3 separate regions of the Homo sapiens genome follow, and regions 1 and 3 are each linked to region 2. Evidence: promoter capture Hi-C in human tissues and cell types (Jung and others, 2019). All regions are on one chromosome and are shown on one strand. Each heading gives the region's core, a stretch centred on a gene start or on the middle of the fragment in contact. The rest is flanking DNA. Distances are from core to core; before and after follow the strand shown.

Region 1 (3,033 bases), core at 91-2,590, 550 kb after region 2:
TTTCATGTATGGAAACTGTTCTATGTACTGTTGATCTCTGTAGAATTTGATCTTTTCCAGAATGTATTTGAAGGCTGACCTTTCAGTAAAAGAAATGCAAGCTTTTCAGCCATGTTAATTTATCACTGCATCTTCTTTGTAATATATATGGCAGTTATGTTAAAAGTAAACATGTGTTTTTCCTTATTCTCTGTGCTCAGGCCATTTATCATTTAGGGACAAAAAGTTTTATATAGATCAAAAGATAAAAACTTGGGCCTAAGGCTTAGTCATTGTAAGGCAGTGATTCCGACTCTTTTTATACTTCCTTAGGGCATTTTAATTAAAATCCATCATGAGATATGAAATTATCAAACTTTGTATAACCTTTTATTTTAGAAGAAAGTTTTATATATATCTTATTAATAAGGAGATACTGATAAATCTAGTAAGTGAAGAGAAACCCCCTAAAATTTGAAGAGATCACTGCTATAGAGGAGCAACACAGTCTGTATCTATGGTCTTTGGAACTTGGTAGATGTCCAGTGAAGTTATGCTGAATGAATCAGCATTTTTCTTATGTGGCTTCTTAGGTGGAGCTTCCCCCAAACCCTCTGTGTTAGTTGTTCTTCCTACTGGGCTTCAATAACATTTGTATCTACCTGTCTTAATACATAGCACATTAAATTGTAATTCTATAATTTATTTACATATTTGTTGCCCCCTAGTGGCCAGCAATCTTCTTGAGTGCTAGGACTACATTTTAATTTTTGTATACAGAGTGTCTGGCTATTTTTTCTATATTCAGCATGGTCTTGTATGAATTATAATACACACACACACACACACACAGTCTTGTATGAATTATACACACACACACACACACACACACACACACACACACACACACACACACACACACACACACACACACACACACACACACACACGGTCGGGGGGATAGACAGCAATGTCCGTCTATCCACATATGGCCCAGTGTGTGACCTGGCAGCAGTGCTGGGTTTTCAAAAGGTTGCAAAGAAGAAAATGAAAGCAACAGCGTTTTAAAGTTCAGTTGATTTTTTGGATATGTATGCATTCATATGTTGTGGGAGAGCAGAGTGAAAGCCTGAGGTTGCTTTTTCCTTTAAAATGTATTTATTTATTCAAGTACATATTAAGGCTATGAAGTGGGGATTTGGTATATGTTGCAAAGATTCAGATTTAATCCATGTAGTTTTTTTTTTTTTTTTTTTTTTGAGATGGAGTCTCACTCTGTCGCACAGGCTGGAGTGTAGTGGTGTGATCTCAGCTCACTGCAACCTCTGCTGCCGGGGTTCAAGCGATTCTCTTGCCTCAGCCTCCTGAGTAGCTGGGATCACAGGCGCCTGCCACCGCGCCTGGCCAATTTTTGTATTTTTAGTAGAGATGGGGTTTCAACATCTTGGCCAGGCTGGCCTTGAACTCCTGACCTCGTAATCCACCTGCCTTGGCCTCCCAAAATGCTGGGATTACAGGCGTGAGCCACTGCACCCGGCCTAATCCATGTAGCTTTATATAACTTTACAAAACAATGCCCTAAATTTTTTTTTTTTAAATCGTATCACAGTGTGAGACATGAAAATCTAATAGTGACAAGATTGGTTTCTTTCTTTCTTTCTTTTTCTTTTTTTTTTTTTTTTGAGATGAAGTTTCGCTCCTGTTGCCCAGGCTGAAATGCAGTGGCACCATCTCGGCTCACTGCAACCTCTGCCTCCCAGGTTCAAGTGATTCTCGTGCCTCAGCCTCCTGAGTAGCTGGGATTACGGGCCTGAGCCACCATACCTGGCTAATTGTTTTTTGGTAGAGAAGGGTTTTCACCATGTTGGCCAGGCTGCTCTTGAACTCCTGACCTTAGGTGATCCTCCTGCCTCAGCCTCCCAAAGTGCTGAGATTATAGGCATGAGCCACTGCGCTCAGCCCATCACTTGGTTTCTTTTTTCTTTCTTTTTTCTTTTTTCTTCTCTCTCTCTCTCTCCTTCTCTCTCTCTCTCTCTCTCTCTCTCTTTTTTTTTTTTTTTTGAGACGGAGTCTCACTCTGTCACTCAGGCTAGAGTACAGTGGCGAGATCTCGGCTCACTGCAACCTCTGCCTCCTGGATTTAAGTGAGTCTCCTGCCTCAGCCTCCTGAGTAGCTGGGATTACAGGCACGTGCCACCATGGCAGGCTAATTTTTGTATTTTTAGTAGAGATGGGGTTTCACCATGCTGGCCAGGCTGGTCTCGAACTCCTGACCTCGTGATTTGCCCACCTCGGCCTCCCAGAGCGCTGTGATTACTGGCGTGAGTCACCATGCCTGGCCCACAGTTTCATCTTTTTAGAGGTCTATAATAAATTATAACTACAAATATAGGAAGTGAGAACACATTTTCATGGCATACACACAATAAATGTACCGAGTTCAAACACCTTGTGATAGAAAATGCTGATTAGAAATAGCAGTGTTTTCATTTCAGCCAGAATAGTTGAACAACCAGTAGTTTGTCAACGAAAAGCTAGAATTAGAAACCAGGAATGGTGGAATATTAGATAAACAATAATATAGCTAGAAATGTAGTGTCCCTTAACAAATATCAGAAATCTCTTACCCCAGGGAAGATCCTTTGCTAATCCTTTATCCTACCAAGCATGGGGTTTTTTTTTTTTCTTTCTTTCTTTTTTTTTTTTTTTTTTTTTTGAGATGGAGTCTCGCTCTGTCGCCCAGGCTGGAGTGCAGTGGCGCGATCTCAGCTCACTGCAAGCTCCGCCTCCTGGGTTCGCACCATTCTCCTGCCTGAGCCTCCCGAGTAGCTGGGACTGCAGGCACCTGCTACCACACCGGGCTAATATTTTTGTATTTTTAGTAGAAACGGGGTTTCACCATGTTAGCCAGGATGGTCTCGATCTCCTCACCCAGTGATCCGCCCGCCTCAGCCTCTGAAAGTGCTGGGATTACAGGTGTGAGCCACCGCACCTGGCCCAAGCATGGTTTTCTGACTAAAAGACATTCTTTGTTGCTGACTGGTCCCACCACTA
Region 2 (3,074 bases), core at 476-2,975:
GTGGCGTGATCTCAGCCCACTGCAACCTCCACCTCCTGGGTTCAAGTGATTTTAATGCCTCAGCCTCCTGAGTAGCTGGGATTACAGGTGCCAGTCATCATGCATGGCTAATGTTTTGTTTTCAATTAGCAATAATTGCGCCTCGGATAAACCTCATTGGCTATGATACTGCCACTGCGCAAAGCTAATGTTTTGTAGTTTTAGTAGAGACAGGGTTTTACCATGTTGGTCAGACTGGTCTCGAACTCTTGACCTCAGGTGATCCGCCCGCCTCAGCCTCCCAAAGTGCTGGGATTACAGGCGTGAGCCACCGGGCCTGGCCCATACTGGCTCTTGACTCTTCCTTGAACCAGATTTGCTTCTGCCCCAGCACTCTTTGACTTGTACTTTCTGGCCGGCATGATCTTCCCTCAGAGGATGGCTTAGTTCCCTTGATTACTCCAAGTCCTCATCACCATCTAACACGCTTATGTTTTACTTATTTCTTGCCTGTTTCTCCCCACCATAAGATCCAAGAAGGTTGGGATTTCTGTCATTTTTTTTTGTTCACTGCTATATTCTTGGTGGTGTCCACATGGTAGGTGCTATTTGTTGACTGAACACGTAGGCAAATATTTCCCTGAGTTTGTCACATGTCTATGTTTTTGATGTTGTCTGCCATGCAACAATCTTATTTACATACTCAAATCTGTTTAAAAAAATTTTTGAGACGGAATCTCACTGTCGCCCATGCTGGAGTGCAGTGGCGTGATCTTGGCTCACTGCAACCTCCGCCTTCCGGGTTCAAGTGATTCTCCTGCCTCAGCCTCCCAAGTAGCTGGGATTACAGGCGCGCACCACCACACCCGGCTAATTTTGTATTTTTAGTAGAGACGGGGTTTCACCATTTTGGCCAGGCTGGTCCTGAACTCCTGACCTCCGGTGATCTGCTTGCCTTGGTCTCCCAAAGTGCTGGAATTACAGGCGTGAGCCACCGCTCCCGGACTAAAATTTTTTTTAAGGCTCAACTTTTGCTTCCTGCAGAATTAATTTTCTCGTTTATTAAACTGTTTATTATGAAAACCTTCAACATACAATAACGTCATTCCATTATTTCTTGACTGGGAATTCCATCAGGGCAGAGGCCTTTGATTTTTCACCGGCTGCCAGGACCTCAGCAACCCCAGGGAATGTTTCCAAAGAATCAATTAATGGCACGAGGGCTTCTCCGGGGCCTGCCTCAGGTCCCCTCGCGGTGCTCAGCACAGTCCTGGGAGCCGTTTGCCGACTCAAGGCGCCTGTCCTGGTTTCTCCCGCCAGGCCCGGCCTTCCCCCGTACACTCACGCGGCAACCCCCAGGCGCGGGTTTGGACAGGGCTTCCAGAATGGGAGGAGCCCTGACTTCCAATTGTACAAAGTTTTCCTGGGAGCCCGCCGGTCCCAGCCCCACCCGGGCCAGAGACCGCCTTACAGACTAGGCCTCTCTGCCGCCGGCGCCGCTCGCGCGCGTTCTCCTCTCTTCAGCCCTCCCTCTTCTTCCCAACCCCCTCTCCCGCCACGGGCTGTGGCGGTTGGTCGTCCCTTTCCCACCCCCTCAGCTAACGAGCGGGCTCTAGGCCCTCTGGGATTGGCTGTGCCTGAGCACATCTTCCCTCAGCGTTTCTGATTGGTCGCTGGACGCGCGGGATGCGAGTCCCCATTGGCTAGGCCAGGGCGCCTGCGCGGCGGGGTTCTCGGTCGCCAGCCATTCCTGAGGAGGACTGCCGGTCGTTCGGACGTCTTGCCTGTCGCTGGAGGAGAGGTCCGGGCTCTCCAGGAAGGTGGCTGCGGCGACAAAATGAAGATATTCGTGGGCAACGTCGACGGGGCGGATACGACTCCGGAGGAGCTGGCAGCCCTCTTTGCGCCCTACGGCACGGTCATGAGCTGCGCCGTCATGAAACAGTTCGCCTTCGTGCACATGCGCGAGAACGCGGGCGCGCTGCGCGCCATCGAAGCCCTGCACGGCCACGAGCTGCGGCCGGGGCGCGCGCTCGTGGTGGAGATGTCGCGCCCAAGGCCTCTTAATACTTGGAAGATTTTCGTGGGCAATGTGTCGGCTGCATGCACGAGCCAGGAACTGCGCAGCCTCTTCGAGCGCCGCGGACGCGTCATCGAGTGTGACGTGGTGAAAGGTAACGCGGAGGCGCGCTCGGGGGCGGGGGCGCGCTCGGGGCACTCTGCCTGTTAGCCACGCCCCTTACCCGGGGGTCGGTCACTGCGCGGTTGGGAGGGGTGGGGAAGTGCGCGGGAGCAGGTCGGAGGTGTTGGGGGCGCGTTGGGTAGAGCCACCCTCCTCCCCTGCGGTCCAGGAACCGTCCACCAAGTAGGAGGAAGCGGCTCTGGGTGGGTGCGGCGGCCACTGCGAGCCAAGCTACGGGGCCGGGGACGCGCCTGAGAGCCTTGCGAGTGTTCCGGGGGCGCGCCTTCTCCTGGTCTCCTGGGCCTGGCACCCAGCGGAAATTGGGAAGTGACGGGCACAAGCCGGATCATGAAGCGGGGAAGATTTCTCCACTTCCCCACTTCCTCTCCAGACGTCGGTCAGAGCAAGGGAAGAGGGAAAAGGTGGGGGCTGACGCCCCAAGGCCGCCCTCCTGTTCCCTCCCGATGAATGTGCTCAAGCGGAAGGTAACGGGGCCCTTGGACGTTTCTCGGGCTGGGGTCTTTTAGTCTTGTCTGGCATGGGTCTACTCATGGGCACAGTTACACGTGGGTACGAGAGGGGCCCCTTCCGAATCACTTTGGCCTTTCAATATTAGGTAGGTTAGGCGTGGCAGCTCTGTGCTTTTCTCCTCCCTCAAACTTGGGGTTTTTCTTTGGGCTCGATTTTACATCTGTCAACTGGAAACCCCAGCCTTTTGCATGTGCAAGAAAGCTTGTTTTATGAAGTCCCCTTCTGCGTAGTCTTTACATGCCAAGCCAGTGCCCTAGGGCAGTGTCATTCTTTTATAAGCTTGGTGACTTTGCAGGGGGGCATACTCTGGCTGAGGGGGTCCTGGGGAGGGGTCTGTGAGAGCTCTTCATTAAACAGTGGCTAAACACGGTTTACTGAATCA
Region 3 (3,023 bases), core at 79-2,578, 740 kb after region 2:
AAGAATTATTGGCCGGGTGTGGTGGCTCACGCCTGTAATCCCAGCACTTTGGGAGGCTGAGGTGGGTGGGATCACGAGGTCAGGAGATCAAGACCATCCTGGCTAACACGGTGAAACCCTGTCTCTACTAAAAATAGAAAAAATTAGCCGGGCGTGTTGGCGGGCGCCTGTAGTCCCAGCTACTTGGGAGGCTGAGACAGGAGAATGGCGTGAACCCGAGAGGCGGAGTTTGCAGTGAGCCGAGATCGCGCCACTGCACTCCAGCCTGGGCAACAGAGCAAGACTCTGTCTCAAAAAAAAAGAATTATTATAGTGGCGTGTCCTCCTGAGCCAGGCACCTCATAGAATCTTCTTGCCTGTTCAGCAAGGCCTTCCAACCCTCCATCCATTTCTCCCTCAGGTCAGGACAGCAGGGTGACAGTGCCTGGAGAAGGCCCTGGCTCCCCTGAAAGCCCTCCCGGCCTGTCTCTGACCTGCACTGGAAGCGGGGGTCTCCGGGGTGGGTCTTCAGCACCTGCCACACCTCTGGGGGAGGCTCCAAGCCCATCTGCTTGGCCCGACACCAGCGCTGCAGCCGTGTGATCCCTGCCAGGGTGGGAAGAAGACTCTGGAGACTTGTGGGGGGTGGGGTAGAGTCTGAGCTGGAGAATGTGTGTGTTGGGGGGAGACAGTTCCTGAGGGTCAGAGTCACGCAAGCGCTTGGGTGACTTCAGAGACGTGTGGGTGACTGGCTGGGAGAGGCGCCTCCGTGGGGCTGGGTGGGTTCTCACCGGTGCAGGGCCCGTACTGCCAGGCCAGGTCAAACTGCCTCAGCAGCTCCAGCTCCGCTTCCTCCTCGTCGCGGGGCTGGGGCTCCTCCCCTGCAATGACAGCTGCTCTTCAGTACGAGGTTGGCTTCAGTCTCCTGCCCCTCACCTCCCAGCCTTCCTCACCACCGCTTTGCCTCTGCCACCCCGCAGCTAGACCTGGTGTCGGGAGGGGAGGACAGGCCACCTTTCCCTTTCCATCGGCCCCTCCGCCCCTCTAGGGGCCTCCTCTAGGCCCCTCCGTGTCCACTCCTCCTGCCTCCCTCACACCTCAGAGACCTAGCTCGGGTGCCAGCTCCCCCTTGCTGTGCCCAGCGGGCCCCTCCCTCCTCTTCACAACCGGGTAGGAATCAGTGATGAGCCGCTTCCGGCCCATGGCGGCCACCCAGGCAGGCAGAGAAGGAGGCAACTGCGGGGAAGAGGAGAGACCGGCCAGTGGGCGCGAGAAAGACAGCTGCTGAGAGAGACAGACGGGGCCAGGCCAGCGGCGGGCAGACAAGATGACCCAGACAAACCGAGAGAGGAAGTCGCCGGGGTCCAGGGAGGGACGCCTCCCCCACCCCCAAAAGCACGCAAACAGGAAAGACTTCAGCCAATGGCAGGCCGCCTATGCGGGGCGGGGCCCTGGCGCTAGCCAATGGTAGGCAGTGTAGGGTGAGGGGCGGGGCGGTGCCTCAGCTGTGGGCCGCGGGAGGAGGGGCAGGCTGGGGCGGGGGACCTGTCGGGATGCCCCGACTTCACCACCTTCCCCGGCCCCCATTGGTCTGCTGTGGGTCCCGAGAGACTTCAGGAGAGTTATCTTCAGCCTCTCACTTCCCGTTTTCCCTTCCTAGGCAAATGTTCTTTTCAGCTTCGCTAATCCCCGTGGCCAGTTTGTAACTCCCTAGAGTCCAGCTGGAGCCTTCACTCGGTCCTTTGGCCCGCCCCGCCTTGTGGGGGCAGGTCTGGAGGTCTGAAGAGAGTTTGGGCTAATCCAGGCCCCTTCCCGGCTCCCACCCAACCCCCACTGGCCCCAGGAGACCTGGCTGGAGAAGCCCATGGGTTCTGAAACCTCCTTTCTCACAGTCTGTGCCCAAAGATGCTGCCCACTCTTAGTCCGAGTAAGTGTTTGCCGTTTTGACTCTCCTGGGGTCCCAAGTCGTGTCCGGCCCGCCCCACCAGTCAGGAAGATTCCATACTGAGTAGGAAGGCAGAGCAAGGGTCTGGTCCCCCCACCACAATGTGTTTGGATCCCTAGTTCTTCACTGGCAAAATCTGCCCTGTCTCTCACAATAATGTGAGTCTGAGCAGAAAATATTAATAATAAACCTAACACTCATTGCACGTACCATGTGCCAAGTACTGTTCTAAGCACTTTCCCACATGTTAATTAAAATAGATGTCAAAAAGTTTTTGAAAGTAGGAAGTATAGCTAAATGATTATCACTGCTGATAGTCACAGGCATTGTAGGGCCCCAATCAAACCACAGTCTCTCTTGCACCCCAGGAGCTCACTGTCACAAGGCAGACAGATGCACAGTTGTCAGTGAGAGGCTATAATTCCTACCAGAAGAGGGAAAGGGTGGGTCAGAGATTGGTTAGGACCACAGGGATGATTAGCATTGGAAGGCCTCCTGGAGGAGGTGGACTGCTGTAAACAATGTCTCTCAATTCTCCACCCATGACCTTTGTCCCTTGGGCTCCTGTCATCACTGACTCACCCATACTGCTGCCTCCCCCTCACCAACTTCCTGGCAGGAGGCAAAAGTACTGGCCAGTGGGAGTCTGGGAACCAGCACAGGGACCAGCCCAGCTCTAATCACCCTCCAGAGATCCCATCCGGTTCTTCCTTCCAGGGATACTGGGAGGGTGGGGCACAGACTCCTGGGCTGCTGCCTGCTCAGAGGCCTCTGCCTCCTCCTTTCCCTGCTCTGGGGTCTGGGTGTTCTGCACTGGAAGAGGGCTAAGCCACTGGTACACGTGGGCACAAGGGAGGAAGCTGCTCTGGAAAGGAGACCACCAGAGGGGAGGCAGAGGAGCAGGCCATGTCTTCAGGGTCCACGTCCTGCCTGGCTCTCCCCATCGGCGTCCTAGAGGAGGGAGCTTGTGGGGGCACTGCATGGAGCTGGAGGGCCCTTTCTGCTGTATTGTTTGGGCTGGGCCTAGTCTAATCCCCCCATCTGCCTTGCGGACTAAGTGGGGCCCACATTCAGGGAGACAGTGTCCCTGCGGAGTTAG

The links. The method cuts DNA at HindIII sites, captures the fragments that hold promoters and counts their contacts. A contact is called where the count stands out against the background at its distance.
Region 1: a fragment that was not itself captured here is called in contact with the fragment with the promoter of RBM14 in region 2 in 1 of the 25 tissues and cell types used here (hippocampus).
Region 3: the fragment with the promoter of POLD4 here is called in contact with the fragment with the promoter of RBM14 in region 2 in 2 of the 25 tissues and cell types used here (ovary and spleen).

What each region holds. Positions count from the first base shown.
Region 1 is chr11:67,167,736-67,170,768 of GRCh38, forward strand. The region is part of intron 2 of KDM2A (lysine demethylase 2A); the gene reads left to right. Among named protein-coding and RNA genes, the nearest start is that of KDM2A, 50 kb to the left of the region's middle. The HindIII fragment of the contact is 4,890 bases long and covers 1-3,033 here.
Region 2 is chr11:66,614,905-66,617,978 of GRCh38, forward strand. RBM14 (RNA binding motif protein 14) reads left to right here and starts at 1,726. Exons shown (of 3, transcript NM_006328.4): 1 at 1,726-2,153. The coding sequence starts at 1,817. RBM14-RBM4 (RBM14-RBM4 readthrough) reads left to right here and starts at 1,726. Exons shown (of 2, transcript NM_001198846.2): 1 at 1,726-2,153. The coding sequence starts at 1,817. It also overlaps the pseudogene RNU4-39P. RefSeq lists enhancers at 1,202-1,311, 1,676-2,609, 1,742-1,971. The HindIII fragment of the contact is 10,275 bases long and covers 1-3,074 here.
Region 3 is chr11:67,352,218-67,355,240 of GRCh38, forward strand. POLD4 (DNA polymerase delta 4, accessory subunit) reads right to left here and starts at 1,329. Exons shown (of 4, transcript NM_021173.5): 1 at 1,086-1,329; 2 at 771-860; 3 at 474-585. The coding sequence starts at 1,182. The region is part of intron 2 of LOC100130987 (a long non-coding RNA gene); the gene reads left to right. RefSeq lists enhancers at 9-591, 592-1,173, 1,167-1,216 and a silencer at 1,397-1,646. The HindIII fragment of the contact is 15,541 bases long and covers 1-3,023 here.